3 separate regions of the Homo sapiens genome follow, and all the other regions are linked to region 1. Evidence: promoter capture Hi-C in 16 types of primary human blood cells and fetal thymus (Javierre and others, 2016). All regions are on one chromosome and are shown on one strand. Each heading gives the region's core, a stretch centred on a gene start or on the middle of the fragment in contact. The rest is flanking DNA. Distances are from core to core; before and after follow the strand shown. Region 1 holds the start of ZNHIT2 (zinc finger HIT-type containing 2). Region 2 overlaps ATG2A (autophagy related 2A). Region 3 holds the start of ATG2A (autophagy related 2A).

Region 1 (3,771 bases), core at 560-3,059:
CAGGCATGTGCCACCACGCCCAGCTAATTTTTGTATTTTTAGTAGACATGGGGTTTCCCCATGTTGGCCAGGATGGTCTCGATCTCTTGACCTCGTGATCGCCCACCTCGGCCTCCCAAAGTACTGGGATTACAGCCATGAGCCACAGTGCCCGGCCTTTTCTTTTTTGTTTTTGAGACAAGGTCTCTCTCATCCAGGCTGGAGTGCAGTTGCACAATCATGGCTCACTGCAGCCGCCAACTCCTGGGCCCAGGTGATCCTACTCAGCCTCCAAAGTAGCTGAGGACTACAGGCATGCACCGCCACACCTGGCTAATTTTTTGTACTTTTTTGTAGAGACAGGGTTTTGCTATGTTGCCCAGGCTGGTCTTGAACTGGGCTCAAGTGATCCGCCCACCTTGGCCTCCCAAAGTGCTGAGATTACAGGTGTCAGCCGCTGTGCCCAGCCGAGAGGTCCTGTTTAAATGACGTGAGTGAGACCTGAGATGAACCAGTCAAGTGATCAGGTAGGGGAATATTTCAAGCCTAGAGGACTGTGTGAAGATGGGGAAGAGGTGATGTCTAGGGCTGGGGGCGGGCAGATCCTGCAAGGCCTTGTCAGCCATAGAGAGGAGTTTGGGTTTGAGTCCAAGTGCAATGGAGGGTCGCAGAAGGGTTTTGAGTAACAGATGGATCTCATCTGACTTGTGATCTAATTTCTCTGGCAGGTTTTTCTGGAGGGCTGGCAAGAAAGTTAGGAAAAACACTTAATGTGTTGTCATCCACATGAGGGGTCAGGAAGCTTAGACCACCAGTAGTAGCAGGGATGCAAAGAACACTCACAGTTTGGTTCATCACACCCCCCACTCCACCACAAGAGTGAGCTCTATTAGAACAGGGACCCCCGGCTCCCTTTGATGTGCATTGTGTTCTTGGCACCTAGAATGGGGCCTGCACTTAATAAGATGGATGAATAGTGGTATTTAATGAGAAGATACTTAATGAAAAGAAGAGGCAGTTTTGGAGGAAAAAAATCATAGGAGCTCAGATATTTCTTAAATGCTGCTTTCTATTTATCTTTTTGAGGTGGAGTTTCTCTCTGTGGCCCAGGCTCGCAGGCTGGAGAGCGGTGGCGCGATCTCGGCTAACTGCAGCCTCCACCTCCCGGGTTCAAGCGATTCCCCTGCCTCAGCCTCAGGAGTAGCTGGGACTACAAGCACCCGTCCCCCACGCCCGGCTAATTTTGTATTCTTAGTAGAGACGGGGTTTCTCCATGTTGGTCAGGCTGGTCTCAAACTCCTGACCTCAGGTCATCTGCCCGCCTCGGCCTCCCAAAATGCTGGGATTACCGGCGTGACCCACCGTACCTGGCCCTAACTGTCCTTTTATTTGTCTGTGTCCCCTAGTGCATTTTATTTGTCTGTGTCCAGCGCAGGGATGCATCGCCTCCCGTAGGCTTGGCACAATTAGTGGCCCAGAGTAGGTGCCTAGTAAAGATGGATTTATGCCACAGCACATTGTAGTGCTAAAAAGAGGGTTTTCTCTTTAGATGATCGGGCCACGTTTTGGTGTGACCACTAGGGGGAGACGTGGCACCGGCGAAGCGCTCGCCAGACCCATTTTTTCGCTCCTTGCGTCATCGCATAGGGCGGGGCTCGTACCTGACGCCCGGCTTCTGGGCCTGCTCTCGCCCTACTAGGGAAAGGGGTGGGGCTTGGCTTTCGGGCGTGGGCGGAAATTGCCGAGAATCCTCGGAAGCTTTGCGAAAACACAGCGCGCCGTCGGCCGCGCTGCGAACCGGAAGTAATCGAAGAAGCCCCGGAAGTTTCGAACTACCACCGGCGTGCGTTCGCAGGTAGATCGCGGTGCCAGTTGCCATGGAGCCGGCCGGGCCCTGTGGCTTCTGCCCGGCGGGGGAGGTCCAGCCAGCGCGTTACACCTGCCCTCGCTGTAATGCGCCCTACTGCTCGCTGCGCTGCTACCGGACGCATGGCACCTGCGCAGAAAACTTCTACCGTGACCAGGTGCTGGGAGAGCTCCGCGGTTGCAGCGCTCCTCCCAGCCGCCTAGCAAGCGCCCTACGCCGGCTGCGTCAGCAACGCGAGACCGAGGACGAGCCTGGGGAAGCAGGCCTCAGCTCCGGCCCGGCGCCCGGCGGCCTATCGGGACTCTGGGAGCGGCTGGCGCCGGGCGAAAAAGCTGCCTTCGAGCGGCTGCTGAGCCGCGGTGAGGCCGGGCGGCTGCTGCCTCCATGGCGGCCGTGGTGGTGGAACCGCGGAGCCGGACCGCAGCTTCTGGAGGAGCTGGATAATGCCCCGGGTAGTGACGCCGCGGAGCTGGAGCTCGCCCCTGCGAGGACCCCGCCGGATTCTGTGAAAGATGCCTCCGCCGCGGAGCCCGCGGCCGCCGAGCGGGTTCTTGGAGATGTCCCGGGGGCCTGCACGCCCGTCGTACCCACCCGCATCCCCGCGATAGTCAGCCTGAGCCGCGGCCCAGTCTCGCCGCTCGTGCGCTTCCAGCTGCCCAATGTGCTGTTCGCCTACGCGCATACTCTCGCCCTGTATCACGGCGGTGACGACGCGCTGCTCTCTGACTTCTGTGCCACACTGCTCGGCGTTTCCGGAGCCCTGGGTGCCCAGCAAGTCTTCGCCTCTGCGGAAGAAGCCCTGCAGGCGGCAGCCCACGTGCTGGAAGCAGGCGAGCACCCGCCGGGGCCCCTGGGCACACGAGGGGCTATGCACGAGGTCGCCCGCATCCTGCTGGGCGAGGGCCCGACCAACCAGAAAGGCTACACGCTGGCAGCACTGGGGGACCTGGCACAGACCCTGGGCCGTGCCCGGAAACAGGCCGTGGCTAGAGAAGAGCGAGATCATCTTTACCGGGCCCGGAAAAAGTGCCAGTTCCTCCTGGCCTGGACCAACGAAAATGAGGCGGCCCTCACACCCCTGGCCCTAGACTGCGCCAGGGCTCACCAAGCCCATGCTGTGGTAGCCGAGGAGGTGGCCGCCCTCACTGGGGAGCTGGAGCGGCTTTGGGGAGGCCCCGTGCCACCTGCCCCAAGAACTCTCATTGAGGAGCTCCCTAGCTGAACGGGTTACCCTGGTCATTAATAAAGCTGTGACTGGTCAGCCCTGTTGCTTGTTTCTGAGGGATAGCTATTGTCCCACCAGACCCCAGATTCCTGGGCCCACAAGCCACTGCTCAGCTTCTCCCTGATCAGTGCTGACCCAGCCAGTCCTAGGGGAGAGAAGTGCACCAAGGGTTCCCAGTGTTTATCCAAAGGAGGAAGAGCATCTCCGATTTTGGTCACTGGTTTCATTTTTTTCCTTGCTCTAAACCACCTCTTCTCTGAGGTTGTTCATCCTCAGGGCTGGGTGGGGTGCAAGCCCTTGAGTCCCAAGTGTGTCGAGGCTCCTGGTCCTGGGTGTGCTGGTGGATGAGTGGGCACATGCCCCCACCTGGGGTGGTGGAGCCGCTTCAGTAGATGTAGGGCATGATGCGGTAAGGCACACGCCGGCAGTACTCCTGCCAGGCCAGGCCGTACTTCTGCAGGCACTGCCGCTCATCCCGGGCCTCACGGTGCACCAGCAGCGCGGTGAAGTAGAGGAGGTAGAAGTAGGGCAGCAGGTGTGACACCCCTGTAGAGAAGGAGGCTCTGTGACCACCCTGCCGGCCCCTCCACCCCGCAGTTCACAAACGTTTCCACACCTCATGGCTCATGTGGGCATCGGGGCTCAGCAGCAAAAGCGCCAGGGTCTGCAGCAAAGCACACGGTACTAGGTTGGCACAGAG
Region 2 (3,771 bases), core at 596-3,095, 220 kb after region 1:
TCAATGTGGACCAGGTGAGTGGTCTACGTGAGGGCAGAGCCTAGGGTGACCCCACTGTCTCCAGGCCTCTGAGTCTGATCCACATCTGGACCTCTCCCTTGCAGGATGCCCTCTTCTTCCTCAAGGACTTCTTCACTAGTCTGGTGGCCGGCATCAACCCCGTGGTCCCAGGGGAGACCTCCGCTGAGGGTGAGAGGCTGGGCCAGGGAGGGGAGCGTCTGGGCCTTCTGCCTCCCAGGACAGCACAGGTTCCCAGTCATTCCTGGCCCCATCCCCAGTCTGTGACCTCCCCTCCCCTAGCTCGCCCCGAGACTCGAGCCCAGCCCAGCAGCCCCCTGGAAGGGCAGGCCGAAGGCGTAGAGACCACTGGTTCGCAGGAGGCCCCAGGAGGTGGACACAGCCCCTCCCCTCCTGACCAGCAGCCCATCTACTTCAGGTAGGCTGCTGGACTGCGGGTGGGGGGCCCTGGGCCAGATTGCTGGGGGCCAGGCCAGTGAGCAAAGAACCCCCTCTTCCTGCTCCCCTACCCAGAGAGTTCCGCTTCACGTCTGAGGTCCCCATCTGGCTGGATTACCATGGCAAGCACGTCACGATGGACCAGGTGGTAAGTGGGGCGGTCGGATGGGGTGGCCATGTGGGGTCAGCTGTGGCTGAGTCCCTCTGGGGGCCAGGTCTTGCATCCAGGCACTGTTAGCAGCCAGGGCGCTCTCCAGTGGCTCCCATGGGCTAGCTAGCTCCCTGAGTCCCATTGGGTAAACCTGGACCCCCTCCCTCTCCCAGGGCACTTTTGCTGGCCTCCTCATCGGCCTGGCCCAACTCAACTGCTCCGAGCTGAAGCTAAAGCGGCTCTGTTGCAGGCACGGGTGAGTCCCCAGCACCCCAGCCTCTCTCCAGGGTCCCTGATCTTCCTTCTGTTCTGGTCCTGACTGGTTGTGTGGCCTTGGCCAAGTCATCACCCTTCTCAGGGCCTCAGTTTCTCCTCTGTAAAAAGGACGCAGTTGGCTGGGCATGATGGCTCACACATTCAGGCATTCGAGACCAGCCTGACCAACATGGTGAAACCCCCCCGTCTCTACTAAAAATACAAAAATTAGCCAGGCGTGGTGGCATACACATGTAATCCCAGCTACTCAGGAGGCTGAGGCAGGAGAACTGCTTGAACCTGGGAGGCGGTTGCAGTGAGCCAAGATCGCACCACTTCACTCCAGCCTGGGCAACGGAGCAAGACTCCATCTAAAAAAAAAAAAAAAGGACACAGTCCCTCTGCACATGACTGGGTGGGACCACAGGGAGGGTAGAGTGCCCACAGTACTTGCCACAGGGGTACTGAGTCCTCCTGACCCCACAATCCCTCCATGTGTGGCTCTGCCTCACCTTCTGCCTCCTCACCTCCCTGCCCTGCCAGGCTCCTGGGTGTGGACAAGGTGCTGGGCTATGCCCTCAACGAGTGGCTGCAGGACATCCGCAAGAACCAGCTGCCCGGCCTGCTGGGAGGCGTGGGCCCCATGCACTCGGTTGTCCAGCTCTGTGAGTGTCTAGGTTTGGAAGCCCTCGAAACTGCTTTTACCCTTGGGCAACCTAGAAGCTGCCATTGGGAATAAGAGGAGGAGGTGGGGGCAGGGCAGCCTCGGGTGTCTCTGAGCGCTCCTTCCCCCTAGTCCAAGGGTTCCGGGACCTGCTGTGGCTGCCCATTGAGCAGTACAGGAAGGATGGCCGCCTCATGCGGGGGCTGCAGCGAGGGGCTGCCTCCTTTGGCTCATCCACAGCCTCTGCCGCCCTGGAACTCAGCAACCGGTTGGTACAGGCTATCCAGGTGAGTGGGTGCCCTGTATCTGGGCTGTGCAGGACAGAGCAGCTGGAGCCCTCTGCACCACAGCTCCCTGGTTCTGTCCTCAAAGCTCCTCAGAGTGGGCAGTCTGGGTATGACAGCCCTACTTTATAGAGAAACAGCCACGGAGAGGCTAAGTGACTTGCCTGGGACCTCCAAGCCAGGTCTCCCGAGGCCCACAGGGGCTCCCATGCAGGAGCGGGAGTGCCCCCCAGGCCTTCAGAGCCCACTGTGTCTCCTGCTCATGGCATGTCTTGTAAAGGGGGGTGGAGGACGGCTGTGTTTGCAGACTAAGAATCTGAGGCGCAGAGGCTGCCCTGGTTCATTCAGGCCATACGCTTCGCTAGGCCAGAAGGACCCCAGGGAAGCTGGGGAGCCAGTCTCGTGGGCAGTTGTCAGATGAATTCTGTAGGGGATCGATGGTCCTAGGCGGCTAAGGGGTGAGTGCAGGTGCATGGTGCATTCTGGAACCTGCAAGCTCAGACCCCAACAGGACAGAGGGCAGGGCTCCAGGGGAGGTGGGAGGGATGCATGGGCACCAGGGAGCCCCCGGGAGTGTTCAGTCAGGTGGGAAAGAGTGATGCCAGGTGAGATGCTGGGCAGAGGATCTGGCAGACAGAAGGAAGGATGGGCCTCTGACCATCTGGCAGGGGCGTCTGGGGGGCCAGGCAAGGAGCGGTCAGTCTCAGGCGTGCAGCTGCGGCAGCCATGTGGAACCTGCTGAATGTGGTGGTCAGCAGGAAGAGAGGTTTGGGTTGAGAAGACTTTAGGAAAGTCCCCTGAGGAGTCCCACGTTCCTAGGTTCCCTCAGCAGAGTGGCAGGTGCCTAGGAAGGGGAGGAAGAGTGGGAGGAAGTGGGGAGTGAGGCTGAGCAGGACCCCCTAGGCCAGCACAGTGACAGGCAGGGAGGCTGAGGGCTGGTGGGGTCTCAGACTGTCCTGGGGGCCTGGGGCTGACGTGTGCCCCAGCCAGCTGTCCTCATCCAGTGCTCCCATGTCCCCCAGGCCACAGCTGAGACCGTGTATGACATCCTGTCCCCGGCAGCCCCCGTCTCCCGCTCCCTGCAGGATAAGCGCTCTGCGCGGAGGCTGCGCAGGGGCCAGCAGCCTGCCGACCTGCGGGAGGGTGTGGCCAAGGCCTACGACACAGTGCGAGAGGTGACCAGGCCCCCGCCCTGCCCCAGTCCCCCATGCCCATCTCCTCACACAGACCCCGCCCTGACCTCTGGCTTCCACAGGGCATCTTGGATACAGCTCAGACCATCTGTGACGTGGCATCGCGGGGCCATGAGCAGAAGGGGCTGACGGGCGCCGTGGGGGGCGTGATCCGCCAGCTGCCCCCGACTGTGGTGAAGCCGCTCATCCTGGCCACGGAGGCCACGTCCAGCCTGCTCGGGGGCATGCGCAACCAGATTGTCCCCGACGCCCACAAGGACCACGCCCTCAAGTGGCGCTCGGACAGTGCCCAAGACTGAGCCTGGGGTGCCCGGCACCCAGAGGGTGCTGCCCACCATGCTCCTGAGCCTCCCAAGAGCTGCAGCCCACGGGCCCGGCCCGGCCTGGCCCTTCAGGGGATGGCCACTGTGAAGGACGCCTTCCCAGCCTGCCCGTTGCCAATCTGCTGTGAGAGGGGGGCCTCCCTGCCTTGGGGCCTTAGCCCTGGCTCTGCACTTTTCCTCCGGGGAGAAAGGACACTGCCCCTCCCCCGACCTGGGCCCACACTGCTGCCTTCTCCCAGGACGGAGGCTTTTGGACCCTCGGACCCCATCCCACTCAGCCAAGTGTCTTTCTGTGTCTGGGGGGAGGAGGGGATGATATCCGTGTGGTTCGATGTATTATTTTTAAGCTCCGTGAGTGCGTGGGTCAGTGTCTGCATGAAGTGGAATAAACTGCCCACCGCCAGCCCCCCTCTCAGATCCTCTGTCCCTGTGAACCCTGGCCTCA
Region 3 (3,771 bases), core at 344-2,843, 200 kb after region 1:
AAATAGAAACACAGGCTAGGTGGGGTAGCTCACACCTGTAATCCCAGCTACTCAGGAATTCCTTGAACCCAGGAGCCAGAGGTTGCGTGAGAGGAGACTGCACCACTGCACTCCAGCCTGGGCAACAGAGCAAGACTCTGTCTCAAAAAAAATAAATAAAATAGAAACATAGGCCGGGCACGGTGGCTCGTGCCTGTAATCCCAACACTTTGGGAGGCCAAGGCAGGCTGATCACCTAAGGTCAGGAGTTCGAGACCAGCCTGCCCAACACGGTAATTAGCTGGGTGCGGTGGTGCATGCCTGTAATCCCAGCTACTCTGGGAGGCCAAGGCAGCAGAATCATTTGAACCCAGGAGGCAGAGGTTGCAGTGAGCCAAGATTGTGCCACTGCACTCCAGCCTAGGTGACAGAGAGAGTCTGTCTCAAAAAGAAAAGAAAAGAAACATAATTACCTATGGCTGTTCCTGAAGTCGCCCATGATGTAAGAGGTTTTGTGTGGCTGCCCCCTACAGAGCAGCGGTTGGCAAACTTTTTCTGTGAAGGGCCAGAAAATAAATATTTTAGGCTTTGCAGGCCTCTGTCTCAAGTACTGAATTCTGCTCTTGTAGCAAGAAAGCAGCCCGGGGCAGAACTTAAGCAAATGAGCAAGACTGTGTGACACTAAAACGTTATGTATAAACACTGGAATGTGAATTTCATATGATTTTTCACATGCCATGAAAAGTTCATTCTTCTTTTGATTTTTCCCCTAACCATTTAAAAGACATAAAAACCATACTTAGCTCAAAGGCCGTACAAAAACAATGCCCCCCTGCTTAAAGGAGGCAGAATCCATTCTTTGATTTTAGGACTAGAGATATGAAAAGCTATTATTATTTCAGAGAGGTGCCTAAGGCCTGACCGACGGCAGAGAGAAGGGAGGGTCAGTTAATCTCCCTCTGAGCATTCCGGGGTGAGGAGGGGAAAAAAGACCTTCCTTGGTGATGGATTCAGAGCCCTTATTTATTTTTGTTTGTTTTTGAGGCAGGGTCTTTCTCGTATCTTAATCTGTTTTCTTACCTGTAAAGCGGTGGCAATAATCCCTACCTTGAGCGATTATTAAGAGGGCTCAATGAGATAAAGGATGGTAAAAGATTTTGCAAAATGCGAATGTTTACTCACTTAATTGTTTCCACAGATGCGCGCTTAAGATCGCGCACTGAGTTTACTCCTCTGGGGAAGGCTTCTACGAAGTTTGATGGGACACTGTCCCTTTAAATCCTCCCCAACCACTTAAAGTGGTTGGACGAATCAGCACATGCGCATTCCTTTGAGGGGCCGGCACCTGGAGCAACAGCCTTCCCAGAGCCTGTAGAGGGGAGGTTAAAGGTCCTCCCACACAGTACTTTACGCAAGCGTAAATCATGATTGAGAGCCCTATATCATGCAGAGAGCCCAGTCCCTTTTTCGCGCCCGAAGGCTCCGCCCCGCGCAGCCAATCAGTAGGCCTCGCCCTTTGCAATAGCCAATGACAGTGAGCGTAGGGGGCGTGGCTGGGCGTCCGGAGGCGCGGCCTGGCGCCTAGAGAAGCGGCGGGGCGAGCCGGGGGCTCTAGTGAACAGCGGAGCCGGACGGGGATCGCCGGCGGGCGGCAAGCGGAGGCGGCCCAGGCCCGGCGGTCTCCGAGATGTCACGATGGCTGTGGCCATGGTCAAACTGTGTGAAAGAGCGGGTCTGCCGCTACTTGCTGCACCACTACTTAGGTCACTTCTTCCAAGAGCACCTCAGCCTGGACCAGCTCAGCCTCGATCTGTACAAGGGCAGCGTTGCCCTGCGAGACATCCACCTGGAAATCTGGGTGAGGAGCCAGGCCCGAGTCCAGGAAGGTGCGGAGGGTGGGAGCGCAGCGACCTGAGGCTCCCTGCGGCAGGATCGGGCTGGGGGATCAGGCACCGGGCGTAGAGAGGCCAGGGGAATCTTGCCCTCTCCAGGCGTCAGAGGCACCCCGGCTGGCCTCTTCAGTTCCTTACCAGAGCCAGAAACTGAGCGGGAAGGGGTTTCTGTCTCCACGGGAGGAGAAACTGAGGCTGGAGAGGGCAAGATCACCTGTCTGGAGAATGCAAGACAAACTCGTCGAGTTTGGGGGCTGAGTTAAGGAGGTTGGCTCTCGGGCTGAGGAGGGGCTGGGGAGGGAGCGTAGGAACTGAGCTGGGCCAGGGCAGTGACAGACTTGGGCCTGCGCAGCTGGTGGGGGAAGCTGGTAGGGGTCCGGAGCCCTGGCGAGGACACCTGTGGATCATGTGCCCTGACCTCTTGACCCCACGGTCCTGAGCCCGTAGGTGGGATCAACAAACCACCGGATGTGTATGTCAACAACCGCGTCAGTACGTCAGTACCAGTGTTGATCAACACCTCGTGTGCCTGGGTCGCTGCCTACTTCCTGCTTTTGGGAGAGTGGGATGGGCCAAGTGGGTGTCTAGGGAGGGACTGGATGGCCCCCACCTACATCTCCCACCGACCCCCCCGGCTCAGTGTCCCTGCCTGGAGGGAGGCCCTGGAGGAAAGGTGGGGAGATCTGGCTTCAAGCCGGGAGGAGGCCAAGGGAGATGCTAGGGAGGCCAAGAGGTGTAAGGTCAGAGGCTTGAGGCTGGGAACGGTGAGGAGCCCTGACTCACAGCTCAGCTGACCTGGGGAGCTTTGAAGGAGCCACCAATTAGAGGCGCGTCCTGGTCGATCCACCAGGTCCAGAGCAGCAGGGGTGGGCATGGAGGCAGGGACTTCTCAGTTTTGTGGCTGGACTCAGGGGGCTGCTAATCTGGGCAGAAGAGCTAGGCTTTGGGGGTAGGCCAGGCCCTGGTGAGCAAATGTGGGGTAGGATAATCGTGGGCCCTGAACTGGGGGCACCCCCCAGTGGCCTGCTGTCTGTGAATTCTGGTGTAGGAAGCCCTCTCTGACCTCTAACCTTAGCCTCAGCCTCTAAGGCCGTCTCTAGGCTGCCCCTTTTTTATTTTTATAGAGACAGGATTTCGCTATGTTGCCCAGGCTAGCCTTGAACCCCTGAAGGGATCCTCCCACCTCAGCCTCCCAAAGTGCTGAGATTATAGGCATGAACCACCATACCCAGCCCTAGGCTTCCCCTTTTTACTTTCAGCTCCAGAAAACGCCCCTACTCCTGTTCCCTGCCCTCTTGTTGGGGATTGAATTGGCTTCTCTAGGGCCCTGGTGGAATGCAGGCGCTTTCTTGATAACCAGCCCCTCCTCCCTCCCAGCTCAGCCTGCAGGCCCCGCCTTGAAGGCCCCCAAAGAAACTGAGTATCTGGGGCCTCTGAAGTGGCATGAAAAGAAAGAGGCCCGCATCCCAGTCTCAGTCCCTGTTGTATACTGGGTGACTAGATTAGTCCTGTCTCTAGGCCTCAGTTTCCCGAGCTGTGGGTCTCTGGGTGAGGAATTTGGACTCCCATCTGCTCTGCCATGTGCTTTTTTATTCTTGGATCCAACCAGTTTACTGAGGCCCTTTCTGGGTGGCACCTGGGGTGACGGGGGAGGCAGGTGGGGTACAGCCCTCCAGGAGCTTCCAGGTTGGCAGGGGTACAACTCCAGCATGGACATTTTAGCCAGGGGCTCAGCCTTGTGCCTCACAGAGAGGCACAGCTACACTAGGTGTTTGGGGTTGGTGGTGGGGGGGGGGGGTCCCATCTGGCATTAGGTCAGCCCCTCTCTTGGACACTGTCCCTTTGAACTCTGCTCATCCAGGGTGAACATGGGTATTCTGGACTCTGCCATACATGTGCC

What was found. The method cuts DNA at HindIII sites, captures the fragments that hold promoters and counts their contacts. A CHiCAGO score of 5 or more calls a contact.
Region 2: a contact is called between a fragment that was not itself captured here and the fragment with the promoter of ZNHIT2 in region 1, in 1 of 17 cell types (M0 macrophages). The highest score is 6.4, in M0 macrophages.
Region 3: the fragment with the promoter of ATG2A here is called in contact with the fragment with the promoter of ZNHIT2 in region 1 in 1 of 17 cell types (endothelial precursors); the score reaches 5.8 in endothelial precursors.

The regions. Positions count from the first base shown.
Region 1 is chr11:65,115,739-65,119,509 of GRCh38, reverse strand. It overlaps ZNHIT2 (zinc finger HIT-type containing 2), which reads left to right and starts at 1,809. Exons shown (of 1, transcript NM_014205.4): 1 at 1,809-3,107. The coding sequence starts at 1,857. The coding sequence ends at 3,068. TM7SF2 (transmembrane 7 superfamily member 2) reads right to left here. Exons shown (of 10, transcript NM_003273.6): 10 at 3,280-3,617. The coding sequence ends at 3,457. RefSeq lists enhancers at 1,559-1,853, 1,846-2,389, 2,936-3,480, 3,481-3,771. The HindIII fragment of the contact is 3,565 bases long and covers 1,740-3,771 here.
Region 2 is chr11:64,894,504-64,898,274 of GRCh38, reverse strand. It overlaps ATG2A (autophagy related 2A), which reads left to right. Exons shown (of 41, transcript NM_015104.3): 33 at 1-14; 34 at 105-189; 35 at 301-436; 36 at 532-604; 37 at 781-863; 38 at 1,406-1,527; 39 at 1,659-1,813; 40 at 2,833-2,985; 41 at 3,066-3,729. The coding sequence ends at 3,302. Among named protein-coding and RNA genes, the nearest start is that of MIR6750, 2.0 kb to the left of the region's middle. The HindIII fragment of the contact is 4,812 bases long and covers 1-3,771 here.
Region 3 is chr11:64,915,031-64,918,801 of GRCh38, reverse strand. ATG2A (autophagy related 2A) reads left to right here and starts at 1,593. Exons shown (of 41, transcript NM_015104.3): 1 at 1,593-1,837. The coding sequence starts at 1,667. It also overlaps a transcript of PPP2R5B not described here. RefSeq lists an enhancer at 1,192-1,321 and a silencer at 1,372-1,681. The HindIII fragment of the contact is 25,686 bases long and covers 1-3,771 here.